Linked DNA regions of Homo sapiens: regions 1 and 2 are each linked to region 3. Evidence: promoter capture Hi-C in human tissues and cell types (Jung and others, 2019). All regions are on one chromosome and are shown on one strand. Each heading gives the region's core, a stretch centred on a gene start or on the middle of the fragment in contact. The rest is flanking DNA. Distances are from core to core; before and after follow the strand shown.

The links. The method cuts DNA at HindIII sites, captures the fragments that hold promoters and counts their contacts. A contact is called where the count stands out against the background at its distance.
Region 1: a fragment that was not itself captured here is called in contact with the fragment with the promoter of VCL in region 3 in 1 of the 25 tissues and cell types used here (lymphoblastoid cells).
Region 2: a contact is called between a fragment that was not itself captured here and the fragment with the promoter of VCL in region 3, in 1 of the 25 tissues and cell types used here (dorsolateral prefrontal cortex).

What each region holds. Positions count from the first base shown.
Region 1 is chr10:75,060,009-75,064,342 of GRCh38, forward strand. The region is part of intron 1 of DUSP29 (dual specificity phosphatase 29); the gene reads right to left. Among named protein-coding and RNA genes, the nearest start is that of DUSP29, 11 kb to the right of the region's middle. The HindIII fragment of the contact is 5,414 bases long and covers 1-4,334 here.
Region 2 is chr10:75,003,090-75,007,890 of GRCh38, forward strand. The region is part of intron 13 of KAT6B (lysine acetyltransferase 6B); the gene reads left to right. Among named protein-coding and RNA genes, the nearest start is that of SNORD172, 16 kb to the right of the region's middle. The HindIII fragment of the contact is 3,250 bases long and covers 10-3,259 here.
Region 3 is chr10:73,995,438-74,000,244 of GRCh38, forward strand. It overlaps VCL (vinculin), which reads left to right and starts at 2,679. Exons shown (of 22, transcript NM_014000.3): 1 at 2,679-2,938. The coding sequence starts at 2,771. RefSeq lists silencers at 2,288-2,647, 2,978-3,027 and enhancers at 2,708-2,907, 2,980-3,631. The HindIII fragment of the contact is 15,261 bases long and covers 1-4,807 here.

The DNA.
Region 1 (4,334 bases), core at 655-3,154, 1.1 Mb after region 3:
AATTAGCCGGGTGTAGTGGCGGGTGCCTGTAATCCCAGCTACTTGGGAGGCTGAGGCAGGAGAATCGCTTGAACCTAGGAGGCAGAGGTTGCAGTGAGCTGAGATCGCACCACTGCACTCCAGCCTGGGCAACAAGAGTGAAACTCCATCTCAAAATAATAATAATAATACTGAAAACAGTCCGGGAGCAGTGGCTTATGCCTGTAATCCCAGCACTCTGGGAGGCTGAGGTGGGCAGATTGCATGAGCCCAGGAGTTCAAGACCAGCCTGAGCAACATGACAAAACCCATCTCTACAAAAAAATGCAAAAATTAGCTGGGTGTGGTGGTGCATGCCTGTAGTCCCAGCTACTCAGGAGGCTGAGGCTGAGGTGGGAGGACCACTGGAGCCCAGGAGGCTGAGGCTATAGTGAGCCAAGATCATATCACTGCTCTCCTGGGCAACACAGTGAGACCTTATAAAAAAAAAAAAAAAAACCCAAAACTTATTATGCACGGTTGGAAGATGTTTGGGAACCAGCTCCTTATTTTGAAGATGGATAGATAAAGGAGAAGAATCTGCATGTATTGCTTCTCTCTTTTACAAACTATATACTACTGGGTTGATACGGGAAATGTTCTTTTATAGAAGTATTCCAGATAATGAATAAAGAAGGAAGCACCATTTTACACCACCTGATGAGTTGCTGCATCCAGAGACTGAGCATAAACTGCCAGCCACGTATGAATAAGAAGAGATGGTCAGACATCATATGCCTTCGAATAGAAGAGCACACCACCATGGCGGGAATCATCTCACCAAAGAGGTCTATATCTATCAGCCGACTTGCTGGAGATTCCGAGGACAGTTACGTTATACCACAGGGCCTTATCTTTTAGAAAAACATACTGAAATATTTGCTTCAAAAATAATATAGTTGGAAAATATAAATAATATAATGTTGGGGCAAGGTATTGATGTAGGTGTGAATGAGATGGGCTGGCTATGAGTGATGGTGATTGGGGCTGGATGATGGTTATAAGGTAGTTGTTGTTTCTCTTTTTTCCTTTTTTAAAATAGAGATGAGGTCTCGCTATGTTGGCCAAGCTGGTCTCGAACTCCTGAGCTCAAGTGATCCTCCCACCTCAGCTTCCCAAAGTGTTGGGATTACAGGTGTGAGCCATCACACCTGGCCAGTTGCTGTTTCTCTTCAGGTGTGTTTGAAATTCTCCATGATAGAAATTTAAAAGGAAAGGGTTGAGACCACTGCTTTGGGGAATTGGATTCTCCCAAGTCCATAGCAGATGACTTAAAGGATCACTAGCTAGCCATGAGTGTCTGTAGGGATTGTGGGAAGCCAGGGTTTGTGACTTCCTCCAACAACTTCCTGCTTCCTGGTGAAGTGTGGAGAGGGCAATAGGCAGCAAAGGGGACCCTCCTGTGAAGTCTCTCAAAGTGTGGTCTGAAGACCACGTCTGTCAGAGTCACCTGGCACTAACCAAAAATACAGATATCCGGGCTGCACCCTCGTAGGGGCGCAGGCATCTGTATCTCAATGAGCTCCGAAGTGAGTCTGACGCTTAGTAAAGTTTGATAATAATTGTCTGAGATGTGGCTAGAGAGCCAGGGTGCTGCGGAGTCAAGGGAAAGGTAGTGAGGGTGCTCATTCAAAATGCCTCCCGCTGTCCCAGTGGGGTGGGAGGCCCGGTCTTTGGCCCAGAATGCAGCTGCAGGCTGGGAGGAGAGAGGACCTTGCTTCGGGGCTCCTGAGTGTGGCTTCTCTCTGTAGCCTTGGTGTCTGGCACGTAAGAGGTGCTCAGGAGATATGGGTTGGATGAGGAAGTGGCTTAGTGAATGAATGGAATGAGTGAATGAGTGACTGAGGGGTGAAGGAATGATTAAGGGCTGTGAGGCCTGTGCAAGGGGCTCAGCAAGAGCTGCTAAGGCAGGACTGAGCCTCCAGGCTGATTTGGAGGAGGGAGAAGGTGAGGGGACTGCAGGCGCAGGGTGGGCTGCCCTCCCCCACGGGTGGTCATTCAGGCCCAAACTCTATTCTGGGGCCTGCCTGCTGTGTTTCCAGTCAGGAAGGAAGAAATTATTTTAAGGAGTGGCCAGAAATCTTTCTCACAGAAACGAGCCCAGACCTTTCAGTCCCCTAAGAGCATACGTAGTTATAGCCCTCCTTGCTTCAGGCCCACAGTGTCTAAAGGTGTGAAGCTCAGCTCGTCCATGGCACCCACTCTTCTTGTTCGAAGTGAGTAGAAGCTGGGCACCATACACCTAAAGGTGGTTTAGGCCATCTTGAACCCTGCCTGCGGTTAATGGAAGCTTCAGAAGAGGTGATTTTCGGGAGACGCTAGAGTCAATTCCGTTCTGAAACCTCCGTCTGCCTCCTTTGATCACTGAAGCTGACCTCACCCTTGGTGAGGCCATTCTTCCTTCATTACACTGTGGAGGGAACCATCCCCGTCTCCATCTCTGTGCTGAAAGCCTCGGCTGGATTTCCAGACAAAGGAGGAAGTGGTGCGGTCTACCCCGAGGAGCTTGGCACGCAGAGTGAGCCCTGGGATCTATTATCCTCCAGCACGCAGATTTGATGGGGAAAGAGAACAAAGTGTGGAACCGTCCAGAAACCACAGACCTGTAATCTTTCCAAATCCTGAAGGCGGCCTGTGTGCACCCTCTCTGCATGGCTCCCAACTCTCTAATTCTCAGAGAGGCCAGGAGCATCTGTTTCCCAGATCACAGCCAACATGGAAGGGAAGACAAATCTGTTCTGTTTGGTTTCCATAGATTCGACCCAGAGATTAACTGCCAAGGTCTCAATGACACACACAATATCAATCACAGGCTAAATGTCATAATGAGAGCTGGGCAGGCTGTCAAGAGAGGCCCCCAGGTTCCTGTTACAGCTTCATATTTAAAGATTTGGTCCCAGGAAATCAAATGCTGTCTCCGAGACGACTTGGCCTACATGCAATGGCAGCCTGTCTCCTCCTTAAAAGGTGACAAACTCAGGCTCCTTCAGGGAGGGGCCAGGCAGATAACATAGAGGAAGGAAGTAGGTTGGGTGTTAAAAAGTAAACAAACAAAAACCTGGCTGTTGGCCTCAGGCAAGAGACATTAGGGAGTGGTGGGGAGTGTGGCACATCAGGGAGCATATGCCTCCATTAAGGGGGCAGCAGCTTGCTGTCCCATGTGGGAATGCAAGCCCAGATTTTCTGGTATTTTTATGATCCTCATAGATTGTTGTGAGAAATCTATTGATTTTTAAATGTAAGCCCCTGTAATCGATGCTATTCTTGCCCTGTTACAAGGATAGCATCTACTACAGGTGCCTACAGGTGCCTCCTCAGCTCAAGTCACTGCAGCAGAAGTGGACAGTTCTTTATATACATAAAAGCCTTCCTACCTCAGATGCCTGTTTTCCTGCTTGAGGGCATTTTCTAGTCCTTGTGCTGGTCAGGCCTGCAGTATGTGGAGTTAACATCCCCCAGAAGTTGTCACCAATTAGAGGCAGGAGTTGGTGGATAAACATCCCCACTTCCTCAACCCTGAGTGGACCACTTTTGAAATATGTCCTGCACAGTCTCCTGGAGGCTGGCCCGTGTGTTGGAGCTCCAGTTGCCCAGAGTGGGACTCTGCTCGCTTACACATCCTTCACTGGTTCTCCTCCCTCTTGGGTGCTCTGCATGCCACACCGTGCTCCCGGGAGCACCTCTCAAATAAACAACATGCACCCAAACTCTAGTCTCAGAGTGTGCTTTTAAAGGAAACTAAACCAAGGTACAGCTAATTTAAAAACATTTAAAGGTGAAAGACACGGTATACATATATCAAAACATCACATCGTATCCCACAAATACAATTATTATTTGTCAATTAAAAATAAAAATGTAAGGAGAAAAGAAAAAACAAAGCTACCATGATAACAGAAGATGCAAGAGGCCGAGCAGTACTTGACCACTAAGGCCTGGAGTGCCATTTCCTTCCATGAAAGTGACCTTGCCTTTGAAGAGCTATCAGCACAGGGACTCCTCATTAACTCAGACTCTAGTTCAGACTTTTTTTTTTTTGAGATAACGTCTCACTTTGTCACCCAGGCTGGAGTGCAGTGGCACAGCTCACTGCAGCCTCAAACTCCTGGGCTCAATATCCTCTTGCCTCAGCCTCCCAAGTAGCTGAGACCACAGGTTGCACCACCACACCTGGCTAATTTTTTTTTTAAAGTTTTTTTGTAGCCGGGCACGGTGGCTCACGCCTGTAATCCCAGCACTTTGGGAGGCCAAGGCAGGTGGATCACAGAGTCAAGAGATCGAGACTATCCTGGCCAACATGGTGAAACCCCGTCTCT
Region 2 (4,801 bases), core at 385-2,884, 1.0 Mb after region 3:
CGAGGTCTGGTACTTTTGCTGAAATGCAGCCTCTATCTTAAGATCATTTCAGTTGCATCAGAAAGAAGATGTCACTGCCTGCTCTAAACCTTGGGCGGAGAAAGCAGAGCTGTGACATAATCCACATTTGTACATAGCAGGTTGAAGAGACACTTAAATCTTTTGCTTACTTTTTCTCTTATCAGATAATTCATTTCTTGATTGCATTTATTTTTGAAAGGAAAATACCAGCTTTAGCCATAAGAAGCTGTCAAGAAAGCTTCTCTTTGCTTAGCCTTCCCAGCAGCTACGCTCCTGGGTGAGTGCAGTCAAGGCAATCATTAAAGAATAATAAGTTATGCTTTTGAAATGGTGCTCAAGTACTTCATAGCCTTTTCTAAGATAAGGAGCCTCCCACCTTTGCCCCCATGACACTTGTTGGAAAATACTGGACCAGCAGCTATATCCTTGGGCTTTTGCTGGGTTTTGGAAGACACATTTTGACCTATGTAATCAAGTATAATGATGACATTTATTTTAATAGGATTCTAGTCTGTAATATAATAAGGAAAATGGCTATTTTTCCTTATTTTCTCATTATAATATGTTACACTAAAAGCTTCTGCCATTACTGTTTTATTATATTGGTCTGAGGTACAATATATTTTAATATGCTAAAGATAACATCAAGGTTGAAAATTGAGCTCTCAGTGATTTATTCAGAGGTTGACTGTTGCTGAATGCATTGAAATGAGTTGCATGAGACAGTGCGGCTAACGATTTATTTGTGTATCTTTTTTTAAGCTAAGCTTGTCATAAATAAGAGCAAATAAATAGCTCTTATAGAATAGTTTGTATTCATTGCCTCAATGAAAACATTGTAAATATGAAACATACGGTCTGCAGTCTCTCTCATTTTTTCTGAAAGCTAGTGTTTTGCCTTACATAGCTCAGAATTTTTTCAAGTTTTGGCATGCAGGTGGTTGGTTTTTTTTTTTTACCAAACAAATTTTTTGTCTGTTTGGATTTCTAACGTTGACTGGCATTTGCATTGAGTTATTTTGAAATCCACTACTGGACAAATTCCATTCAAATAATTGGTATGAGAATAACCTAATCTTCAGCAGAACTGGAACAAAATGAAACCTTAGTGGGACCATCAAGAGGGCAGGAACTTGGTCATTGCTAAACTCCAAGCCATGAGCACAGTGCCTAGCACATAGAGGATACAGAATAAAGGATTGTTGGGGGAAATCAATGAATGCCTGAGTCTAGTTAATCCACTTCTTTGTATGACTGTCAACACCTGCCAGATGCATCCAGCTAGCTTTTGACCAGTAGTGCTTAAACTCAGATCTCCTCTCAGTCTTTGTTTTTTACACTTTATTTATCCCTTCATCCCATCCTTCAGCAAACATGCTTTAAATACACTGTGCCAGGGATGGTCTAGGTGATGAGGACATAAGGATGAATGATTTAGTCCTTGCCCATAGGGAAGTAGAGGGTCAGACACAAAATTCTTCCCAGTCCTGCAATTTCAAATTTCAGAGAGGCTGTGGCAGTGCAGAGGAGGAAATGCTTCCAACTCTATTTTCCATTTACCCAGTTAAGATATATAGAAGAGACGCATTTTTCCTTGCTTTTCTTTTTAAAGACTGGGTCTCACTCTGTCACCCAGGCTGGAGTACAGTGGCGTGATCATAGCTCACTGCAGCATTGAATTCCTGAGCTAAAGTGATCCTCCCATGTCAGCCTCCCAAGTAGCTGGGATTACAGGCACATGCCACCATTCCTGGCCATTTTTCAGGGGGAGGGGTGGGGGGTCAGCTAGAGACAGGCTCTTGCTTTGTTGCCCAGGCTGGTTTCCAACTCCTGGCTTCAAGTTATGCTCCTGCCTCGGCCTCCCAAGGCACTGGGATTACAGGTGTGAGCCACTATGCCCTGAGCTGTTGTTAAAACAAGATCAAGAAAGATTTTGCTCTGCTTGGTTGAAATTAGTGCTATACCTCATTTGGGTTTCAAGAGAACTATTCCCCCTTGAACATATATTCCAGCTTGTAATAGAGACATTATGTTTGAGATAGAATATTCTAAGATAAAAGTTTGCTTCCACTTACCCCTCTCATGATGGCATTTCGTTTTTTTGTTCTTTTTTTTTTTTTCTTTTGAGACCGAGTCTTGCTCTGTTGCCCAGGCTGAAGTGCAGTGGCACGATCTCAGCTCACTGCAGCCTCTGCCTCCCGGGTTCAAGCAGTTCTCCTGCCTCAGTCTCCTGAGTAGCTGGGATCACAGGCACGTGCCACCATGCCCGGGTAATTTTTGTATTTTTAGTAGAGACAGGGTTTTGCCATGTTGCCCAGGCTGGTCTCAAACTCCTGAATACAAGCGATCCACCCACCTCAGCCTCCCAAAGTGCTGGGATTACAGGCATGAGCCACCACGCCTGGCCCTAAACAACACAACTATAACTTCAGCTGGTTGTAAGGTAGTTTTTTGGTTGGTTGGTTGGTTGGTTGTTGGTTTTTTGTTTGTTTGTTTTTAAATATAATTTCATATTGGGTAAAACAAAAGGTTTTCCTTAACTTGTTTAGAATTGTTTAGGAAAATACTAGTTAGGAATCTGATTTTTTTTCTCCCCCATGGATTTGTGGTTAGCATGTTTGTACTCTAATATTCATGCTACATTTTCATGTTTACCAATATAAAAACCTTTTTTGTAATTATTTATATGGAGTCCTGCTTTGAGTTAACATCATAGAGGAACGCTTTTTTTCAGCAAAATTGTTTTAAATTAATGTTTCTAAAGTGTATAAAAATGGTTGGGTGGATTAAAAGCAATTCAGTTTCACATGAACCATTTGTCCACATGGAAATAAATATGCAGCACAATTACACGGCAGAAGGTACGAAAAGGTGTTGCTGAAATCATGAGAAAATGTAATACAGGCGGACGTCAGTCTCCACAATAAATTTGCATATGTCCTTTTTTGGGGGCAAATACAGTCATCATTTTAAATGAAGTCGAAGAGTTATTTCTGTAAACAAAACAAAAGTCCTCCTTGTCATACTAGACAGCAAGGAAGCAAAAATTGTTAGGGTCATGTCAAAAAGACTCAGGAGTCAATTTGAAGAGGTTCTGACCAGACAATAAATATAATAATAAAGATAAAAAATTGCAATTTATTGCAACTTGTCAAATGTTTAAATTCACAAGTTCATAATGATACTAAAAAACAAACTGATTTAGAGGATAATAGGAACCAGTTTATTTTCTTGAAAGCTGCAAAAATTGCAATTAAAACATTTATCCTGCCTTTCTTACATAAACTGTACAGTGAAGTAATCAAGTAGTAAAGGAGGGGAAACATCATTTTATTTTTTAAATTTTTAAAAATTTTTTGAGACAGGGTCTTGCTCTATCACCCAGGCTGTAGTGCAGTGGTGCGATCTCAGCTTACTGCAGCCTCACCTCCTAGACTCAAGAGATCCTCCCACCTCAGCCTCCTGAGTAACTGGGACTTCAGGTAAACACCACCATGCCCAGCTGATTTTTTCATTTTCTGTAGTCTCTTTATGTTGTCCAGGCTGGTCTTGAACTCCTGCGCTCAAGCGATCCATCTGCCTTGGCTTCCCAACGTGATAGGATTACAGGCATGAGCCACTGCACCTGGCCAGAAACATCTTTTTATAAACATATTCCAGCTAACCAATGAAAATAAAATGTACGGTGGCTCACACCTGTAATCCCAGCACTTTGGGAGGCCGAGGCAGGCGGATTGCCTGAGCTCAGGGAGTTCACGACCAGCCTGGACAACATGGTGAAACTCCATCTCTACTAAAATACAAAAAATTATCCGGGTGTTGCGGCATGCACCTGTAGTCCCAGCTACTTGGGAGGCTGAGGCAGGAGCATCCCTTGAACCCGGGAGGCGGAGGTTGCAGTGAGCTGAGATCGTGCCACTGTACTCCAGCCTGGGCAACAGAGTGAGACTCCATCTCAAAAAAAAAAAAAAAAGAAAAGAAAATGACAGAATTAAAATATAACCATTTTGTAATCCCCACCACCACCATGAATTAATGGATCTAGACAATGAACAACATCAACAGTTGCAAAAAGGACAACCAGAAATTATCTATCTTCTGATCAAGGATATTTGTAGTCTTGCCAGTGGATGGAACCCAAGTCTAATCAATCAAGCACTGGATCTAGTTACCATTTTGCAAGAGATACAGAGTAAAGAGGAGCATACTGAGCTGCAGTGCAAGTAGGAGATCAGCAAAATCCAGAGTGAGGACAGTATAGGTCAAGTGGCCCCAGTTCAACCACAGATAGATTACAAGGAAAAGAAAGGGGTGAAGGTGGAACCCCTAGATTAAAATGACATTAAGATTTTTTTTTTTAATAGGCAAGACTGTTCTAGTGCCTGGACTGTTTTGGTGATGAAAGTATAAAAAAATGCAAGAGATTATTGTGAAAGTCAGGATAGTGGTTACTTATGAGAGAGAAAGGAGAGGTGATTGGCTGGAGCGGATAGAAAGTTTTCTGGAGTAGCCGGCAAACTTCTATTTCTTGATCCTGGGTGATAGTTACAAGGACAGTTGCCTTATAATAATCCATTAAGCTGTGTATTTGTTTTTTGTCATTTTATGTATCTCTGTTTTATTTTTGTTTTTTAGAAAGCAATCATCTTAAAATGGGAGGTGACATCCTATGGTATCTTAGTGCTTGGGTTTTTGTAACTCTTGAAACTGAAAACTTACTCGATTTATTGGTGGCATCCTACTAGTCATGTTTTAAAGAGAGACACAGTTTTCACCTTGA
Region 3 (4,807 bases), core at 1,429-3,928:
CCACTTGCCGGAGTTATATCTCCATCAAGTTGTGAAGCTGGGGTTCTGGCTTGAGCTCTGGATGGCTCTGAATTTATGCTGTTTGCACTGTTTAACCTGCCTGTCTGTGGGTCTAAGGTGGGGAAGCTGAAGGCAGTAAGGTTGGTCTGGACCCAGATTGTGGAGGGCATTGGTGTTAACACATGCTAACAGGCACCAAGAAAGATTTTAGAGGGAGCCAGTGAATGTGGAAATCAGGGGGACGGAAATGGGTATGATTATGGATGTTGGGGAGCACATGGGCTGGATGTGCAATGTGATATTCTTTTTGGGAGGTTAATATGGCCAGTCAGGCATTAAAGATGATTACATGATCAAGCCTCTGAGTCTTCCTGCCAATCTGTAGGAAATATATAGTTCAGAAGAACAAGTTAAACTACACATAAATATACAATCAGCAAAGTGGGGACAGGGTGAGGATTTAACAAAATCATACACTTTTTGGGAGGCTATATATACTTTGGGAGGCCATTTATACTTTGGGAGGCCAAGGCAGGTGGATTTCTTGAGTCCAGGAGTTTGAGATCAGCCTGGACAACATGGCGAAACCTTGTCTCTATCAAAAATACAAAAATTAGCCGGGCGTGGTGGCATGCACCTGTGGTCCCAGCTACTTGGGATGCTGAGGTGGGAGAATCACCTGAGCCTGGGGAGGTCAAGGCTGCAGTGAGCCGAAATCACACCACTGCACTCCAGCCTGGACAATCGGAGTGAGACCCTATCTCAAAAAATAAAAACATAAATAAAAATAAATAAAATAAAATAATTTTTAAAATAAAAAAATCATATCGTTCCATCACTCAACTTTTTTTTTTTTGGACAGGGAGTCTCACTCTGTTGCTCAGGCTAGAGTGCAATGGCACGGTATCAGCTCACTGCAACCTCCACCTCCCAGGTTCAAGCAAGTCTCCTGTCTCAGCCTCCCGATTAGCTGGGATTACAGGCACCTGCCACCACACCTGGCTAATTTTTGTATTTTTAGTTGAGACGGGGTTTCACCAGGTTGGCCAGGCTGGTCTTGAACCCCTGACCTCAGGTGATCTGCCTGCCTCAGCCTCCCAAAATGCTGGGATTACAGGCGTGAGCCACCGTGCCTGGCCCCATCACCCAAATATTTATACTATTAACACAAAGTAATGGGCAGAGAAAACAGCTGTGGTGGTTGTGGTAGGACTAGACAAAAATTTTCATTTGATGTGAGAATCTTTTGCTTGGAGGCATTACTGAAAGTGTTTACCTCAGAATGGGAAAGCTTGGGCAAAAGCGAATTTGAAGTAAGTAAGACGTTTGGAAGATGTCTTTTTTTTTTTTTTTTTTTTTTTGAGACAGAGTCTTGCTCTGTCGCCCAGGATGGAGTGTAGTGGCGCGATCTCCGCTCACTGCAAGCTCCGCCTCCCGGGTTCACGCCATTGTCCTGCCTCAGCCTCATGAGTAACTGGGACTACAGGCGCCCGCCACCACGCCTGGCTATTTTTTTTGTATTTTTAGTAGATACGGGGTTTCACCGTGTTAGACAGGATGGCCTAGATCTCCTGACCTCGTGATCCGCCCGCCTCAGCCTCCCAAAGTGCTGGGATTACAGGCGTGAGCCATCGCGCCCGGCCTGGAAGATGTCTTATACAAAGCGTGAGGGAACTGGATAATTTGGTCTTACCTATCAAAATATAAAATGCATATACTTTTGCGTTTTTCTCTTTCCTGGTAGGCATTTGCGCTAGATAAATACACAGATGCACAGCACAGGGGTAAGTACAATTCATGCAGAATTGTTTTTTAATAGTGAAAACCAGGACCCAACCCAAGTCCATGAGTAGGAAATTGGTTCTGTAAATAGTTTTATTTCATGCAATGGAATATCATGCAGTCATTAAGAAGAATGAGGTAGACCTCTACCAGCAGTGAAAGATAAGGGCATTTTAATCAAGGGCAATCATACCTAGTTCCAGGAAAATGTTTATTAATCTCATTTAGTTAGAAAATATATATGTAGAAGTGAATCTATAGACAAGTCTAGAAGGCTACACACCCAGCTGTTAAACAGAATGTCTTTGAGGAGGGCAGGGGGCGGAGTCTGCGTTTACGTGAATGGGACGCTGCTGTTTCTCAGTGCACCTCTGCTGTTTGAATCTTTTACTAAAAACCTTCCCATGCATTGCTGGGAGGGAATGGAAGGAGTATTTTGAGGGTTTCGTGTGAAGGGAAAAGTTGAGGAGGGGACGTGGGAGACCCCTTGGTCTCATCAAACTCTAGCGCCGCTTGAGGTGAGGAGACCCCGCCCCGCTGAGGTGATTCTGCAGAGGGGCGGAGCCCCCCAGATCCGAGGCGGGAGGCGGCCCGGGGGCGGGACCAGCCGGCTCCAGCGGCCCGCTCCGCTCCCACCATGCCCTTATAAGGAGCGCCCGGCGTTAGGGCTCGGGAATCCGGTAGCAATCCCGGCGGCTCAGCCCCAATCCCAGGCCCCTCCCTTAGGAATGGGGGAGGGGCGGGGTTTGGCGGCGCGGTGGCTGGGGCGGAGCATCTCGAAAAGGGACCAGTAGGAGTGGCGGCCCAGGTCTGAGCTGCGCTGCCATTGGGCGCGGCGACGAGAGGGGGCGGGGAGCCCGTGAGGCTGGTTACGCCGAGGGAAGCCCCGACTCCGTAGTCGCTGCACAGTCTGTCTCTTCGCCGGTTCCCGGCCCCGTGGATCCTACTTCTCTGTCGCCCGCGGTTCGCCGCCCCGCTCGCCGCCGCGATGCCAGTGTTTCATACGCGCACGATCGAGAGCATCCTGGAGCCGGTGGCACAGCAGATCTCCCACCTGGTGATAATGCACGAGGAGGGCGAGGTGGACGGCAAAGCCATTCCTGACCTCACCGCGCCCGTGGCCGCCGTGCAGGCGGCCGTCAGCAACCTCGTCCGGGTGAGCGCGCAGGGCCTGGCGCGGGAGCGGGCGCGGGAGGTATCCCCGGGGCCCCGGCCCGCGTCGCGGCTGCCTGTGGCCGGCTCGCTGGCCGTGGCTTTCCGCGTGGGTTCCGGAGCCAGGCGCCGAGGGTTCGAATGGCCTCTTCTCCGCCCTGTGACCTTGAGCGAGTCCTGAGCCTCTCCGGGCCTCAGTGTCCTCATCTATAAAATGGGAGCAGTCATGAAAAAGGCTGCCTTGCGGGCTTGTCGTGAAGATATGGCGAGGTATTATTCGTGGAGTGCCTCGCGCGGCGTGTGGCCCACAGCAGACACCCAATAAATGAGAGTTGCTGGGATGTCCGAGGGTCCCTGCCCCGCGCAGGCTTCGCCCCCACGTTGACTTCCTCGCTCTCAGCGCCTTTTAGGCCTCCTCGATCTGGCTGTGCGGGGGAGGGAGAGCGGGCCTTCCCACGGATCCCTTGCCTTCTCTTCTAGGGATCCTTATTTGAGCCACGTTGTCCTCCTTTCTAATACTTCTGCCCCTCACCCTGAGACCCGCCTCGCCCACCCCCGCTCCCCAGAGCTCCCTGTATTCCGCCCTTTTATTCACTTGCCTCACTCTCTGTCGCCTCCTCCTCCCTCCTGGGCATTTTACTTATGCTCACTCCTCTGGCACTCTCACACCTTTATGCAGTCATTCGTGACCACAAGCCCGGTTTTTCCTTCCGCTCAGCCCTGCTGCCCTTCCTTTCATTCCCTCCTGTGGACATTTTCACCTGGCGTTACCTGCTGTCAAACGGCCTCCTCCCACTGGGGCCTTTCTAGACTCGGGGGCCCTCCTTGGCCCCTCCTCCTGGCAGGAAGCAAGATGGAGCTGTTGGGAGAGGCCTGTGGAATCTGGGATCTGCCGCCCCTGCCGGAGAGAAGGCTGGGGCATCCGCTCCCCATCCACAACTTTCCTGGTGGCTCTGCAGACCCCTGTAACCCACAGCTGTGACTCATAACCGAGGTGATTCCTGGAGGAGGTGGAGCCCACGTCTGAAATGGGAAAAAAGAGGTGCTGAGACCAGTCTCCCAAGACTCCCCTGGCTAATGTCACACTTTTCTTTCCCACCCTGGGTGGGTGACTCAGACTGGTCCTGCTTGTGAGGAACAATTTTGGAAAAAGTTCATACTGCTCCCCCACTGAGCTGTGTAAATAGTGTGTGTCAGGGCAGTTGGGCGGCAACTGTGGGTCTGTCTGGGTGGGGCTTGGGTTACTTTTCTGATTTGAGCACTTTAGTGCACTTAGAGGCTCTTTAGCAGCTGAAAGTCTTCCTCAGTCTTCAGGGGTCCCTGGACTGTCTCAAGCAATTTAGGAGACTGGTAGCTAGGAAGACAGGGTGACACCACCGACCAAATTCCTGATCTTTCTTCTCTATAGCTTTAGTAAGAATCTATTCATTCAGTAAGAATGCTGTATTCATTCACAATGTCTACTTGTACATTGTTCTTCTTTTTATAACTAATTTGAACAGAACACTCCAGAGTACATTCTTATGTAGTGTTGTCTAACATGGCTGCATTCCAGGCCTCCATTTTTCAACAAATAGGAAACAATGTAAAGAGACAAGGTAATAGTGTCTCTCCATGTAGTACTTCAGGAAATGAAATCTTAAAACCACATGTTGCACTTGGAACAGAGCTAGTGTAGTCTAGGGGTTGATATCTGGTTAGGCTATTTAGAGAAAAGTTATTTATGGGCTTCCATGCCATGAATTAATAAGCATTGAATGTCTGCTATATGGAAAACACTGCAATAAATCAGTGCTTCTCAGCTTAAGAGTGTTCATGAAAATCATCAGTGAGGCTTTTTAGAAATTAAGATGTCCAGCTCCCACGGGTCAAG